Linked DNA regions of Homo sapiens: region 2 is linked to region 1. The links are contacts of gene promoters, found by promoter capture Hi-C in blood cells and fetal thymus (Javierre and others, 2016). All regions are on one chromosome and are shown on one strand. The core of a region is centred on a gene start or on the middle of the fragment in contact, and the rest is flanking DNA. Distances in the headings are between cores, read along the strand shown.

Evidence for each region. Contacts are between HindIII fragments. The CHiCAGO score rates a contact against its expected background, and 5 or more counts as called.
Region 2: a contact is called between a fragment that was not itself captured here and the fragment with the promoter of HS3ST2 in region 1, in 1 of 17 cell types (M0 macrophages). The highest score is 6.5, in M0 macrophages.

Annotation. Positions count from the first base shown.
Region 1 is chr16:22,810,339-22,817,776 of GRCh38, reverse strand. It overlaps HS3ST2 (heparan sulfate-glucosamine 3-sulfotransferase 2), which reads right to left and starts at 3,615. Exons shown (of 2, transcript NM_006043.2): 1 at 2,682-3,615. The coding sequence starts at 3,166. It overlaps LOC107984851 (collagen alpha-1(XVI) chain), which reads left to right and starts at 2,918. Exons shown (of 4, transcript XR_001752349.2): 1 at 2,918-3,070; 2 at 4,513-4,790; 3 at 5,376-5,494; 4 at 7,140-7,438. The HindIII fragment of the contact is 5,471 bases long and covers 2,032-7,438 here.
Region 2 is chr16:22,691,441-22,698,878 of GRCh38, reverse strand. No RefSeq gene overlaps it. Among named protein-coding and RNA genes, the nearest start is that of LINC02890, 82 kb to the right of the region's middle. The HindIII fragment of the contact is 1,092 bases long and covers 3,653-4,744 here.

The DNA.
Region 1 (7,438 bases), core at 2,366-4,865:
ACTGCCTGCAACTCTGCACCTCCCCCTTTGGAAAGCACAGTCCACTCCAATGGGTGCAAGGGTTCTTTGGCTATGTCTGCCCAGTGGACCCTGGCTTTATGATGGCAAGCTGTGAACTGACAAGGCAGTGGACAGAGAGCGGAACATCCTGTCACCCACCGTACCTAGCTCATGGGATTCAGGAAGAAAGTAAGAACATGGGTTTTAAAAGATTCCAGAAATCCCCATGATTTCTGCAGTTAATGTGTATGACTTGGTCATAATAAAAAGAAATGTACAAAAATGTTCTTTACATACAGAAAGATGTTCTGGAGGTTATGGAAACAGCATCTAAGTGGGGTAGTATTACCCTGCACAGAAATGGCAATCCACAAGCTAAACACTTGACTCTAGGGGTGTGGATTTGTAACTGAAAGAAGCACAAACCACACAGCCTTTTCCTGACACTGGAGCCTCCCAGCCTTCCTGGTCAAGCAATGGGGAGAGGGCAATTACGACCAGACCTCTAGGATAGTCTTTTAGAAATATAAAGTGGGGAAAGGTGGTAGAGGGGGAGAGAAGAGAGAAGCAGAGCTGTCAGCATGCTTGATGTTAAATAAAACCTACCAAGACTCAGCTGAGAATTTTAGCAGAATCCAAATGTGCTAAAAAAAAATAAATAAATAAAAAATAAGACATGGCTTCCCTCTCTAAGGTTCACAGCTAAGCTTGCTTAGAATCACACATGCCAAGGTTAAAAATAAAAAGCAGCCATCCCTGAATGACATGGGCTCCAGGATGGAAGCCTGAGGTATGCTGTTTAGTGGTGGAAGGAAGAGAGGGGAGGGAGGAGAGTCTGGGTTCAGGGCATAGGTATTTATTGGAGGGCACACTATCTGAAAGCCAGATGCTCAGAATTTTGCTGTTTTGCACTTAAAAGGCACTTCGCATTGGCAAAAGGTGTCATAATGATCTTCAGATTTTCCATCGAGGAAATGCTGGCCTGCATTCGAATGTGGTCATGGCTGACCCACTCTGGGCTCTGCTGTTCAATGTGTTTGCCTCCTCCATCCCGGGATCTGACTCAGACAGTGTCCACATGCACCTAGACGGGATGCCCATGAGTCACAGCTTGGAAAGCACAGTGGGCTATTGGCATTGGCATGAAGCCAGATCTGCCACTCTGTGCCACCCTACCCTATTAACCAGACATAATGGTGCTGGGGCCACCCACAGGCTAGCTAGCCCCTGGTTGGCTGCAATGGGGACAGACTATGTGTCTGCCTGCTAAGGATGATGCATGACCCACTCGTCCCCACAACTACAACCATTGCGAGCCAGGAGTAACCTGCAAAGGTGCTAAATCAGGCCTGCGGTCCCCCTACTTTTGGTAAATCCAGGGCCCTCTATTATAAGCCCAGTGGGGTCCTCTTTCTAACAAAGTTGTCCCTTGTCCAATATGCATATGACCTCTACTGCCTAAAGCTGTAGATAAAAACAGCAGATTTAGCCTCAGCTACTCTGTCAGCTACCATGTTACCCCTCCCCAACGTCATTACTATGCAGATGTTTCTAGAAAGTCTTCAAAGGGTCAGGTGAATTGTGAGAATTCTGTGACCTATGTGTTAACAGGGAGCCGGGACATTACACCACCCACATGTGGGCCAGTCCTACACTTCAGCACCATACAGGGCTAGGGAGGCAGAAAGGCATTGAGGCGTGGACGCTGCCACCTCACAGAAGCTTTGGTCTGTGCCTTGACTCCCCCAGTGGGGATAATTCTCCTCCCTGGCATGCATGGGAAGCATAGACAGTCTATGCATGACTGGCTGCCCCTAGCACCCTTGCTAGCCTTCACCCGCAGGGCCCACCTTCAAATTCCACATTTTGGCTGCTGGTTTAGAAGCATCACTTAAAGTGAAGTGCCTTTTTTACACCTTTAAGGCACTTCAGAAAAGCCTTGGAAGGTATACAGGGCAAGGGCTGTTTTCCTGCCCATTGGGATGGATGAGAAAATAGAGGCTGATAGAGTTTAAGAAACTTGCTCAAGCTTAAGTGACAGACCCAAGACTCGAATCCAGGGCTCTTTCCACTACTCAAAGACCACCTACCAGGGCCAGAGCTACTGGGGGTCTCAGCCCCAGTACAGCAGCAAATACCTGGGTTTGAGATTGAGACTCCCTAAGGCATCTTTCTTACTGGAGACCTCTGGCGATGCACTGTCATTTGGCCTGAACTCTGGGGACCTTTCCCAAACAGAGCCTTGCTGCAAGGGGTCTCTGAACTGCCTTATCTTTCTCAGGGTCCTTCAGGGGCTGGGTACCAGCAAAGACCTACAGAGGGTTAGGATGGTGCCGTGTTCAGGCAGCACAGGTCCTCGCCTGTCCCTTCCTTGGGCACCCTAAGGGCTGGTCACAGAGGGAGTTAGCCCTTTAGCTGGCACTTAGGTTTGACTGGAGATAATCCTTTTCCAACGACTCCAGTGACGAGGGAACGCCCTTTGCAGTTCCAGAAACTGCCCGTCTAGATTATCACTGGGAAGTTCTGGGTAAATTCTGCTATAGCCCCCCATGGCCCTGTGTGTCAGCCTGAACCCATACAATGAGTTGGGTTAAAAGAAAGAGAAAACACAAGAGACGGATGGCTCTCCCAATGGAAGCGATCAGAGACCCGGCGCACGGAGCGGAGCTCCTGGTCCTTACCTGTACCAATCCAGCCCGCGGCCGTAGTTCCTGTCAAAGAAGTGGGGTTCCGTGCCCAAGGCCCGCACGTCCGGGTGTACTCGGATAAACTCCAGCACGGCCCGGGTGCCCCCCTTCTTCACGCCCACAATGAGGGCTTGGGGCAACCGCTTGGTACCCAGCTTGGGTGAGCCGGAGTGGTTGGAACCGGAGAGGCGAGGGGCGGGCACGGCGGCGGCGGGCGCGCTGGGAGCGCTGGGCTCGCTGGGCGTCGGCCCGGAGGGATCACAGGGGCGGGACTTCTGGAGAAGTTTCTGGCCGCCCGCGCTGGGGCCGCGGAGGCAGCGAGGCGCGCCGAGGAGGCGGCTCCGACCCAGGTCGTCGCAGCAGCACAGGAAGCTGTAACACAGGTAAGTGCAGGAGAGCGAGAGCGTGAAGGCGAAGAGCAGCCTGCGCGCCCTCCGCGGCTGAGGTGGCCCCGCGCGGCCCAGGACCCTATAGGCCATGGCTCCATGGGCCCGCGCCGGGGGTCATGGTTTCCGAGGGGGCACCGGCGGCTGAGCTGCTGTGGCCCTGCGGTCGCCTAGAGGGCTCGCGTGGCGCTGCCACGGCCACGCGGGTCGGGCGTTGGGGGCGCCGTCTTCTCCGGGGGCTGCTGACCAGGGTGCGCACAGTGCCAGGGGGTCCCGGGGGCAGCGGCTCCTCGGGGAACAGGCGGTTGCATTTCCAGCATCTCCCGGTCCTAGGCGATGGGGCTCCGGGCAGCCGGGCGGCTCGGGCGCTCCCAGGCTCTTACGTGCGCCGGGTTCGGAGCGCGCCCAGCGCCCGAAGCCCCATTCCTGATCCTCGGAGCGCCGCTCACGAAACGCTCGGCGGCGGCGCGGCTGTGCGGGCTGGCGGGTGGACCGGACGGTGGCGCTGGCGCCGGCCGCGATCTGGCTCTTCGGGAAATGCCGAGCGGAGCGCGCTGCCGGCTCTATTTAAGGAGTGGCCTGACGTCAGCCGCGCGGGTCCCCCGAGCCCGCGCCGCGCCCAGGGACCTGGCCCGCCCCCTGCGCCCCCACTCTCTTACCCCTCCCAGAAACACAGCACGCGGGCCCTCCCCATGCAGGCCACTCCCTACGGAGCCCCAGGCCAGCTTTGGGGCGGTGAAACGAAGGTGTCAAGGCATAGTACTCCTCCGGGAGGCTGGACACCCCCACCACGCTGGCCTCTCGACATCCAGGGACACGAATCCAGGTCGAGATCGCGCCGACATGCAGACCAGACAGACCCAGACGCAGACGCAGGCACCCTGCCCTGATGCGCGGTCCCACCACCCTGACCCGCACACGCACGCACAGGCACAGAAGCACACGCGCCCTAGCCCGGACACACCCCCACACCCACGCGGGGGTGGGGAGGAGAAGTCCCCTAACCTGGGCCCAGATACACCGACAAGGACACTCCCCCCGCTCTCGACATCTCGCCAAATGGACACACACAGCCCGGAATCGGACACCGAGCGCACGCACGCCCTGGACTGGGACACGCGCTGTAGACGGGATGGGTGGAGGAGCCGAGCGTGAGTGAGATTCCGTGACTATTCACCCAGCTTCTTAGCCCCCAGCGCGCTGACTCACACCCCGGCGGCTCGCTCTGTCTCGCACCTATGAGGCACGCGCGCACCCCAACCCATTGTCACCCCACCTCTCCCCGGGCCTGCCGGAGAGCGAGCCCCGGAGCGGCAGACTCCGCGTCAGGAGGGTTCCTCTCTTAGCAGCCGCCGCCTAGCGGTAGACTGCTCCCCGGGGAGCTGTCCAGGGTACCAGAGGGTCGCCGAGGGCTGAGTGAGGAGGGCTTCTTCACACAGAGACACTAGGAGGAGGAAACAGAGTACAAGGAGAACGTATCCAGGAGCAATTCCACTTCGAATGATTCCTAAGTGAATGCCTACAGGACAGTTCTCGGTGACCATGTCCAGAACAGGCATAAGTGACGATCCCCAGTACTTCCCTGAGGGACCACACTGGTACCTTGGATCAGAACCCTGCATCAGAACAGGCCTAAATGGCCATGGCTAAGAACACGGCTGAGTTGTCCTTCAACAGCAATGCCAATGCCAATTCACCATGTCCGAGTGTTCACAAGGTGAGTGCCCTCCACCACCACCCAGCCATAGAATGTCTAGATGACCACCATGACCCCCACCCTGATCAGGGTATAACTGACTTCCTTCCTCAGGCTGTAAACTGATCATTAGGTTCTGTGGATCTTAGCCCAAACCAGAAAATATTTTGTCCCCAAACTAGTCCCATCCCTAGAAACCTTAAACCAATTCTACGGCAGATAATAATAATAGCTGCCAACTTTGTATCAAGCACCTGGCATGGGTTAACTGATTAAATATTCACAACCTATGAAGTTGTTACCATTACCCTGGCATCACTTTGCTGTCTTAATTCTAATAGTAGCTAGCATTTATTGAGTGCTTGTTTTATGGGAGTTATGCGCTAATCACTTGACATGCACTACCTCATTTATCTTTGGAGATAGGTATTATTGTAATTTCTAATCTACAGGCAGTGATAAGAAGATTTAACAAACATATACACAGTAACTGGCAGAGCTGGGATTAAACCCGGGCAGTCTTGACTCCAAGATTCAAGCTCTTAGTTACAGCACTTTGCAGCTTCCTAACTTCCTTTGACCATTATTCATATAATTCCATCCTAGGCTCCTCTCCTGGATGTAAGCTAATTTGTCTATGTCTCTTCTAAAATCTCACACCTGGGACTGCGCGAGGAATTTCAGATATGGATTGAAAAGTTCAACAGGACTCTCACCTCTCTTTTGTAAGTTCTATTTCTAGTAATGCCACCTAAGACTCCATTATCTTTTTCTTGTGGCTATATCACACTGCTGACATCTCAAACTTGCAGCCAAGTAACATCTCTAAATGTTTCTTACAAGTGCTGCTGATTAAGGCACAGCTACCCCATACTGTGCTTGTACAGTGGGCCTTTTTGGACCCAATGTGTAGGTCCTTATAGATTTGACTTGATTGCATTTCATCTTGTCTCATCAGTTCGCTGCCCTAGTTTTTTTTAAATGTCTATTTGAAGTCAAACCACGAGGTAGCTTTCATTTATTCAAAAAGAAAAAGTAGAAAGATTGTATCCCAGCTTTACCCTTTATTCCAGGTGTACTTTGGGCAAGTGGACCCCCTTTAAGCCTCAGGTTCCTCAGCTGTAAAATGGGACGCTATGATTCACCTTAAAAGTCTCTCAAAGTTTAGATGTTGCATGATTCTATGATTCCATTACCCAAAGCATGAACCACTCACTTGGCATCATGTAATTTCCACAGTTGATCACAATTTAATTAATTCCTCATTCTAATTGTTAATAAAAATGTCAAAACAAATATACTTAAAGGAGTTCTTCTTCTTCTTTTGGGTGAGGGGAAGTGTCTCACTCTGTTGACCATGCTGGCATGCAGTAGTGCAATCATAGCTCATGCTGCAGCCTCCACTTCCTGGGCTCAAGGGATCCTCCTGCCTCAGCCTCCTGAGTAGCTAGGACTACAGGCATGTGCCACCACACCTAGCTAGTTTTTTAATTTTTTGTAGAGATGAAGTCTTACTGTGTTGCCCAAGCTGGTCTTGAACTCCTGAGCTCAAGTGATCCTCCTGCCTCAGCTTCCCAAAGTGCTAGAATTACAGACATGAGCCACAATGCCTGGCCTGGAAGGAGCTCTTATATATACTTTGAACAATTATTCACATCATGAACCTGCTATTTTTGTATTCCATTGTTAAAATTACAAGGTTAAATGTGGAGTCATCTGCTGTGATCAGTACTATTTCCCTTAGAAAATAAAACATGAATATAATGATTTCTCATAATTCTGTGCTTGGCTTAATTTTTAAATAATTTTTAACCTTTGAATTCATAAACTGTGATATCCCTGGGTACTCACATATATCAAAACCAGGAAGATTTTCCTCTTCAAATTTCCAATCAGAGTAATGACTGACTTGGATAGAATTTTTTAGGAAGTGAGACATTGGACATACCTGCCCATCTCCTAAACCTTTATCTGTTTACAGTAGCAAACGTGATTCTGCTTTGGGGGTATCAGGTAGGATTATGCTGGGTTGTGTAGTTTGTCAATTAACACCCACTTAAGCAAGGTATATGTTTATTTTTGTAATCACATGAAAGTCCAGATGAAGGTACTTTAGGGCTTGTATGGAAGCTCCAAAGTGTTTGGGACCCAGGCTCCCTCTATCTTGTTACTCTACCATGCATTTCCTCCATTCTAAAGTCACCACATAGTCTACAATGACTTATTCATCTGCAGCCAGAATGTTCACATTCTGGTCATTAGTAAATATGTAAAGACATGCCATATCTGTTTAAGGACATTTCTTGGAAGTTGCCTGTATTATTTCAACTCGTATTCAATTTGACAGCATTTTATCATTTGACTTTCTAGCTTCAAGAGATGCTTCAAAATGCAGTCTTGATTCTGGATGGCTGTATGCCTGGCTAACACTTTGAGATTTTGGTATCAAGAAAGAACTAAAGAATGGTTATGGAGGACAACTAGTAATCCTTGCCATCCTTGGACAAACAGTTTTCCCTCTTTTATTCCCATGTGGTTTGTATGGGTTGAACATAGTTCAAAGACAGGCATATGACCAAGCCTGACATCATCACTTTCTAATTATATTTCAAGAACTGAAAGTAACTCAAATCTTTCTAGTGAGAATAAACCACACAACATTTGTGAAA
Region 2 (7,438 bases), core at 2,949-5,448, 120 kb after region 1:
TGGGCACTCCATCATGGTTTGCAGTGGTTGTTAGTGTTTTAAATGAACAAAGCAACCATTGAAAGAATGAAGAAGTGATTTTGAGCATTTGGGCTGCCAGCAGCTATTCTACCTACCAGTTTTCCAAGTCAGAAATATTTAAAAGAGAAGAAGACTTTAGATTTTGTTTAAAAAAAAAAAAATCCCACCAGGTAGAAATTGGCTTTCGAAACAAAAAAGACTGGTCTTTTTGCATTGGGAAGGGTTTATACTTACATTATTGGTATTTTGGACAGTGGTTACCAAAAACCATAGAAAAAAGGCTAACAGAAATCTATAGCTATGGATCTTTTTTCATTTTTACTTTTTACCGAATCTGAGCTCAACTGATGCTCATTGCCAACAAGAATCTATGGTTTGGGGGGAATCTTTTATTTGTAATTATTTGGTCTCTGAAGTAGGTCATGTGATTTATGGGATAAGTTGATTAGGGAAATAACTGCATGAGCCCTGAAGAGAAGACCAAGTTTGTATCATTTGCCCTAGAAAGTAATGGAGATTAAGAGATAGGCTGGGCACAGTGGCTCATGCCTGTAATCCCAGCACTTTGGGAGGCCAAAGCGGGCCGATCACTTGAGGTCAAGAGTTCGAGACCAGCCTGACAAACATGGTGAAAACCTGTCCCTACTAAAAATACAAAAATTAGCCAGGAGTAGGGGTGGGCACCTGTAATCCCAGATACTTAGGAGGCTGAGGTAGGAGGATTCGCTTGAACCTGGGAGGTGGAGGAGGTTGCAGTGAGCTGAGATCGCACCATTGCGCTCCAGGCTGGGTGACAGAGCAAGACTCTGTCTCAAAAAAAAAAAAAAAAAAAAAAAAAAGAGAGAGAGACAGAGAGTGTGACTCCCTGTCTATAAAGCCCTATTTCTGGGCTGGAGATGCATCACCTCTACAACTGACCAAGACAAATAAATGTATTCTCCTTAAAGCCCCCAGAAGGAATGCAGCCCTACCCACCTGTCGGTTTCAGCCCGGTGAGACCCACTTCAGACTTCTACACACCTATTCATTTGTGTTGTTTCAAGTCACTAAATTTGTAGTAATTTGCTACAGCATCAACATGAAACCAATATAAGAAGCCAGATGCAGTGGCTCATGCCTATAATCCCAGCACTTTGGGAGGCCGAGGTGGGTGGATCACTTGAGGCCAGGAGTTCAAGACCAACCTGGCCAACATGGAAAAATCCCATCTCTACCAAAATACAAAAATTAGGCCAGGCACAGTGGCTCACACCTGCAATCTCAGCACTTTGGGAGGCAAGGCAGGAGGATCACTTGAGGTCAGGAGTTCGAGACCAGCTGGCCAACATGGTGAAACTCCATCTCTACTAAAAATACAAAAATTACCTGGGCATCATGGTGGGTGCCTGTAATCCCAGCTAGTCAGTAGGCTGAGGCAGGAAAATCACTTGAACCTGGGAGGCAGAGGTTGCAGTGAGCCGAGACCACACCACTGCTCTCCAGCCTGGGCAACAGAGCTAGACTCCATTAAAAAAAAAAATACAAAATACAAAAATTACCCAAGCATGGTGGCACACACCTGTAATCCCAGCTACTAGGGAGGCTGAGGTAGGAGAATTGCTTGAACCTGGGAGGTGGAGGTTGCAGTGAGCCAAGATCACGCCACTGCACTCCAGCCTGGGCAACACAGAGAAACTCTACTAAAAAGAGAGAGAGAGAAAAAAAAGAATTAGAAAGAAAAAGAAAGAAATCAATATAGAAAGTATAGGGGAGACAATAATCTGATTGGCATCACATTTTTAATTAACAACAAATATTAACTGGAAAACAATGGAGCAATATCTTCAAATCTGTGCAAGGCCATGGCAACAGATTTAAATATCAAAGGGAAATTGAAGAAAGTCTAACAAAATTAAAACTTAAGTAATTGACCAAAGAAGAAGAAAACCTAAACAGATCAATAACATGAACGATTGGAAAGGTCAAGATCTACCATTTTAAAAATCACCACACTTGCATAGATTTACATCCAAGTTTACCAAGCCTTAAAAAAAAGATAATTCTTCCTATATTATTAAAGTATCTTAGACTACAGAAAAAAATGAAACTCCCCAAGTTGACTATGACTTCGAAGAAGTTAGCAAAGCACTTTGCACAAAGCTCTTAGAACCATTCTGCCTTGTTCAAGTCATGGCTATAATACTTACTGGCTGTGTGACCTTGGGCAAGTTATTTATTCTCTTCCTTTCTCCACTCCCTTCTCTGTTAAATGACGAGGAAACTCTACTTCATGGAGATTGTTGTGAAGATTAAGTGAGTTTATAACTATCAACTGCTTAGAACAGTGTCTGGTGCCTATTAAGGCCCACATGCATACATATTTGATATTACTACTTTTATGAAATTAGAATCACCTTATTAGTTAAGCCTGATGAAGAAAGCACAAAAACAGAAAGCCACAGACAAATTCATTTATGAATACAGATACACATTTGTAAATAAATATTAGAAAATTAAGCTCATCAGTTCATCAAAAGAATAATACACTTATATTAGGAGCACAAGAATGGCTTAACATCATAGCTGGGCATCATGGTGGGCACCTGTAATTCCAGCTACTTGGGAGGCTGATGCAGGAGAATCTATCACTGTGATCCATTATATCTACCACTTAAAGTAGAAATTTCAGATGCTGTATGGTTGTAAGATAAACCTATAAAAATGAAGAGCTTTTCTATCAGTAATTATCACATAGTACTTTTTATTTTATTTATTTATTTTTTTGATACAGGATCTCGCTCTGTTGCCCAGGCTGTAGTGCAGTGGTGCAGTCACAGCTCACTGCATCCTCCATATCCTGGGCTCAAGCGATCCTCCCACCTCAGCCTCCTAAGTAGCTGGGACTTTGATACAGGATCTCGCTCTGTTGCCCAGGCTGTAGTGCAGTGGTGCAGTCACAGCTCACTGCATCCTCCATATCCTGGGCTCAAGCGATCCTCCCACCTCAGCCTCCTAAGTAGCTGGGACTACAGGCGTGCCACCGCATCCAGCTAATTTTTGCATTTTTCTTCGTAGAGACAAGGTTTCTCCATATTGCCCAGGCTGGTCTCAAACTCCTGGCTCCAGTAATCCTCCAGCGTCAGCCTCCCAAAGTGCTGGTATTATAGGAGTGAGCCACTGCGCCCAGCCCCACATAGTACTTTTAATAATTAAATAAACTTAGCAAAGTCAGTGTGGGCAATATGAGAAGGTCATGGAATGCTAGTCCAAGAAATCTGGTATTTATGAAATATATAGCAGGAAAAATTCAAGATGCCAAATAACATAAATAGGTCTATGTCTTTGGAGATGGATAGCAGTGAGGATTCTGAAGACAGAGAGACCCTTAGGAAATTATTGCAATAGTCCAGTCAAATGGTAGAGGAAAATTGAGCTGAGACAGAGGTCTTTCCAGAGGAATAATCGCTGGTACTGCTTTGGAGAAATAAACAGAATTTGTTAACTAAAGTCCAGACTGGGTAGACTGTTTTTACTACTAGGCTAAGGAACACGGGTGAAGAGAGTATTTCGGGAAAGATGACATTGAGTTGAGTCAAGCTGATTTTGAAGCACTCCCAGAACACCCACTGGTTAGAAAGGCAGATCAGAAGCTTCAAATAAAAGCAGGGACTAAAAAATTAACAGAGAGATTATTTAAGAAGCAACGATTCTGGAGCTACGAGAGGACATGAGGTCACCCAGGGAGAATGTGTAGCCTGCAAGGAAGGCTGAGACAGAACCTCAGAACATGCTGACATTTAAGGGATGGAATGAAAACAGCCGGTCAGTAAGAAGTTCTAGTGGTTGTTGGAGAGCCAAGAGCATGCAGAGCCCCATAAACTAGTGAAGAGATCCAAAAAGGATCACAAACCCAGCAGTTTGGAATGCCAAAGCAGGATCAAGGCGGAGGAGGAGCATTCAGCAAAGCAGCCTGCAGGTCCTTAGGAGAAACAAGTTCAGTGAAATGGGCATCTTGCAGCCCATTAAGCAGAGATAGAAAGTAGGTGGACTAAAGAATCCAAACGGCTTTTCAGTAAAAGTGGGTAAGAGCTTCAATTTGGGGATCAGGTTAACATGGATTCACATCTCAGCTCTACTGTTGGACATTTGTCAATCATTCCATATCTCTGAGCCTAACTTTCCTTATATGTAAAATAGGATAGTCCCAGTACTATCTTCGTAGGAGTTATTGTGACAATGGAGATAATCCATTAAAGGGGCTTAGATTGGCATCTAACATAGTTAAGAGGTCAGTAAACTTGGGGGTATTTGCGGGGCACAGTGGCTCATGCCTGTAATCCCAGCACTTTGGGAGGCCAAGGCTGGTGGATCACTTAAGGTCGGGAGTTCAAGACCAGCCTGGGCAACATGGTGAAACCCCATCTCTACTAAAAATACAAAAATTAGCCAGGCATGGTGGCGCAAATCTGTAATCCCAGCTACTCAGGAGGCTGAGCCAGGAGAATCGTTTGAACCCAGGAGGCAGAGGTTGCAGTGAGCCAAGATCGTGCCACTGCACTTCAGCCTGGGAGACAGAGTAAGAGTCCGTCTCATAAAAACAAAATGAAACAAAACAAAACTTGGGGGTATTATTGTTATTTCAATAAAATAGATGATGATCCCATCTGCTGAGAAAGGGATGAAAGCAGGTGGAAAGGGAGGAACAGCTGCTTACGTGTGTTTAAATAGACTACTTCCCAAAGCTTTTTTTTTTTTTAAATAAAAAATGACCAGACAGCTGAGATGAACTTGAAATAGACCTGGCCATCCAACCCAGCCAGACCACTCTTCCCAGAATCACTCACTGACTGAGCACTGGAGTGGTGGGAGCGGAAGAAATAAATTGTTGGGAGAATTGTTGGCTTGAAGAATGGCAAGGGTTAAAATGATCTGGTGTGGGAAAAGGACAGGATTTGAGCACAATAGGGAGAGCTCACTTAGACTTGGAGGCCGGGGCAGAGTTGTAGGAGTCATACCAGGGAAAGATCAAGCTAATTTATAGGAAGGAAAAAATCTAGAAATGAGGAACTTGAGTCGGAGGGGGTGATTCAGAGAACTGAGCATATAACCAGTCATGCTTCTTCCATTTTTTCGTATGGTCACTCTCTTACCTAGATACCTATGATACATTCAATAATCATTACTTTGGCCAGACACGGTGGCTCACACCTGTAATCCCAACTCTTAGGGAGCCCAAGGCAGGAGGATTCCTTGAGCCCAGGAGTTCAAGATCAGCCTGGGCAACATGGTGAGACCCTCTCTTTACAAAAATTTTAAAAATTACCCAAGCATGGTGGCATTCACGTGTGGTCCCAGCTACTCAGGAGGCCACTTAAGTCCAGAAGGTCCAGGCTGCAGTGAGTCATGTTCATGGCACTGCACCCCAGCCTGGGTGACAGAGAGAGAACCTATCTCAAAAAAAAAAAATCATCATCATCATTTCTTAAAACAACATTAATCATAGGTCACCTTTTTAGAGGCAAGCAGGCATTCTGTTAAACACAGTCCCCATATCAATTCTATGGGTCAAGAAGCCCTTGATGCCCATTACAGGTAAGTAAACTTTCACAGAGTGACAGGACTAAGATTTGAACCTGGGCAATCTGAATCCCAAGGCTGAGTAACCACAGCACATAACTATAAGCAGGGCATTTCGGTACGCAGCTTCTTGGATGACCTCAATACTCCCTGCCTCCTGGTAGCCCCACTCTTGTGTAATTCCCTCCCCGCTTGTGTGTGGGCTTTATTTAGTGGCCGACTTCTAGCAAGCAGAATGCAGAAGAGGAGAGATGTCACTTCTGGAATTAGATTACAAAGAGATGGCATCTTCCGTCTGGAGCACTCTCTCACTCTCACTCCAAGGGAAGCCAGCTGCCATGTTGTGAGCTGTCCAAGGATCCCAGTGACAAAGAACTGAGGAAGTCCTCTGGCCAGCAGTCAGCAAGAAACCGAGACCCTAGACCCTTAGCTCCAACAGCCTACAAATAACTGAAACCTTCCAAAAACCATGGGAGGGAGCCTAGAAGCAGATTCTCCCCAGCTGAGACTTCACATGAGACCACAGCTCCAGCATGTACTCTGACTGCAACCTGGTAAGAGACTTTGAGGTCTGACTGCAACCTGGTAAGCAACCTCAAGCCAGAGATACACAGGAAAGCCATGCCCAAATTCCTAACCCACAGAAACTGAGACAATAAATGTTTGCTGTTTCAAGCTGCTAAGTTGTGGAGTGATTGGTTATGCTGCAATAGTTAGTGAGTGCATCTACTCTGTGCCTAACACTTCCTAGATGTTAGGAATAAGACTTGGTCCCTGACGTCTGAGCATTTATAGGGGAAACAATGATATAAACAAATGATTCCAGCACAACATGGCCCAGGGTGGAGAATTGCACTAGTGGGCAACTGTAATGGAGGGAAACCAGAAAATATTCACAGAGGAGGTGAAATTTGGTTTGCATCTTGAAGGATGAATCAAAGCTAGCTAGACGGATGAAGGGGAATGGATAGTCAAAGCAAAGAGAACAGATACATGCCAAAGTACAGAAGATGAAACAGCAATTAAATATTTGTGGTTGAGTGTAGCTGACAGTAGAGACAACCAAGTAATGGAAAATCTTGCATGCTTTGCAAAAACCTCTGAACTTTCAAAAGACTGTCATGTACAATACATACTTGATTTATTTGAGAAGCTGCACTCTTTAGAAGTCATTTTTAGGTCAGAGGTCACAAGCTGGCATCCCTTGGAGAATATGGCCAGCACACATGCTTCTTTGGCCCTCAAAGTTATTTTACTAGTTTGAATTAGTTATTAACATTTAACAAATAAGAGATTTCAGATGAAGATCCACATTTCCAGCTTTGATTAAAATATCAGAAGATCCCAACAGGTGTGGGGATCACACCTCATTCAAGCTCAGGAGTTCAAGAACAGCCTGGGCAACATAGCAAGCTCTTGTCTCTACTAAAAAAAAAAAAAATTAATAAGCCAGGCATGGTGGTGCATGCCTATAGTCCCAACTACTCCAAAGGCTGACTCAGGAGAATCACTTGAGCCTGAGAAGTTGAGGCTGCAGTGAGCTGTGATCATGCCACTGCACTCTAACCTGAGCAACAGAGTGAGGCCCATCTTAAAAGAAAATATCAGAAGATCTAAACACTGGGATAGCGTTTCCATGTAGCAGTTGGCTGGAGTGAAATGGTAGCTGTCCCTTTTAGACAGAACATGCACACTCTACCAGAGTTCCCATCTGGCCAACTGAAGGGATTTGACTTTGCATCTCCTGCACAGAGAAGATAAATGTGTACTCAATATAAACATCGCATCTGTGAAGGGATGCATTGGTGAACTCCCATCACCTCAGCAAATGAGTGACCGCTTGGAAGGATCAAACAGAAAA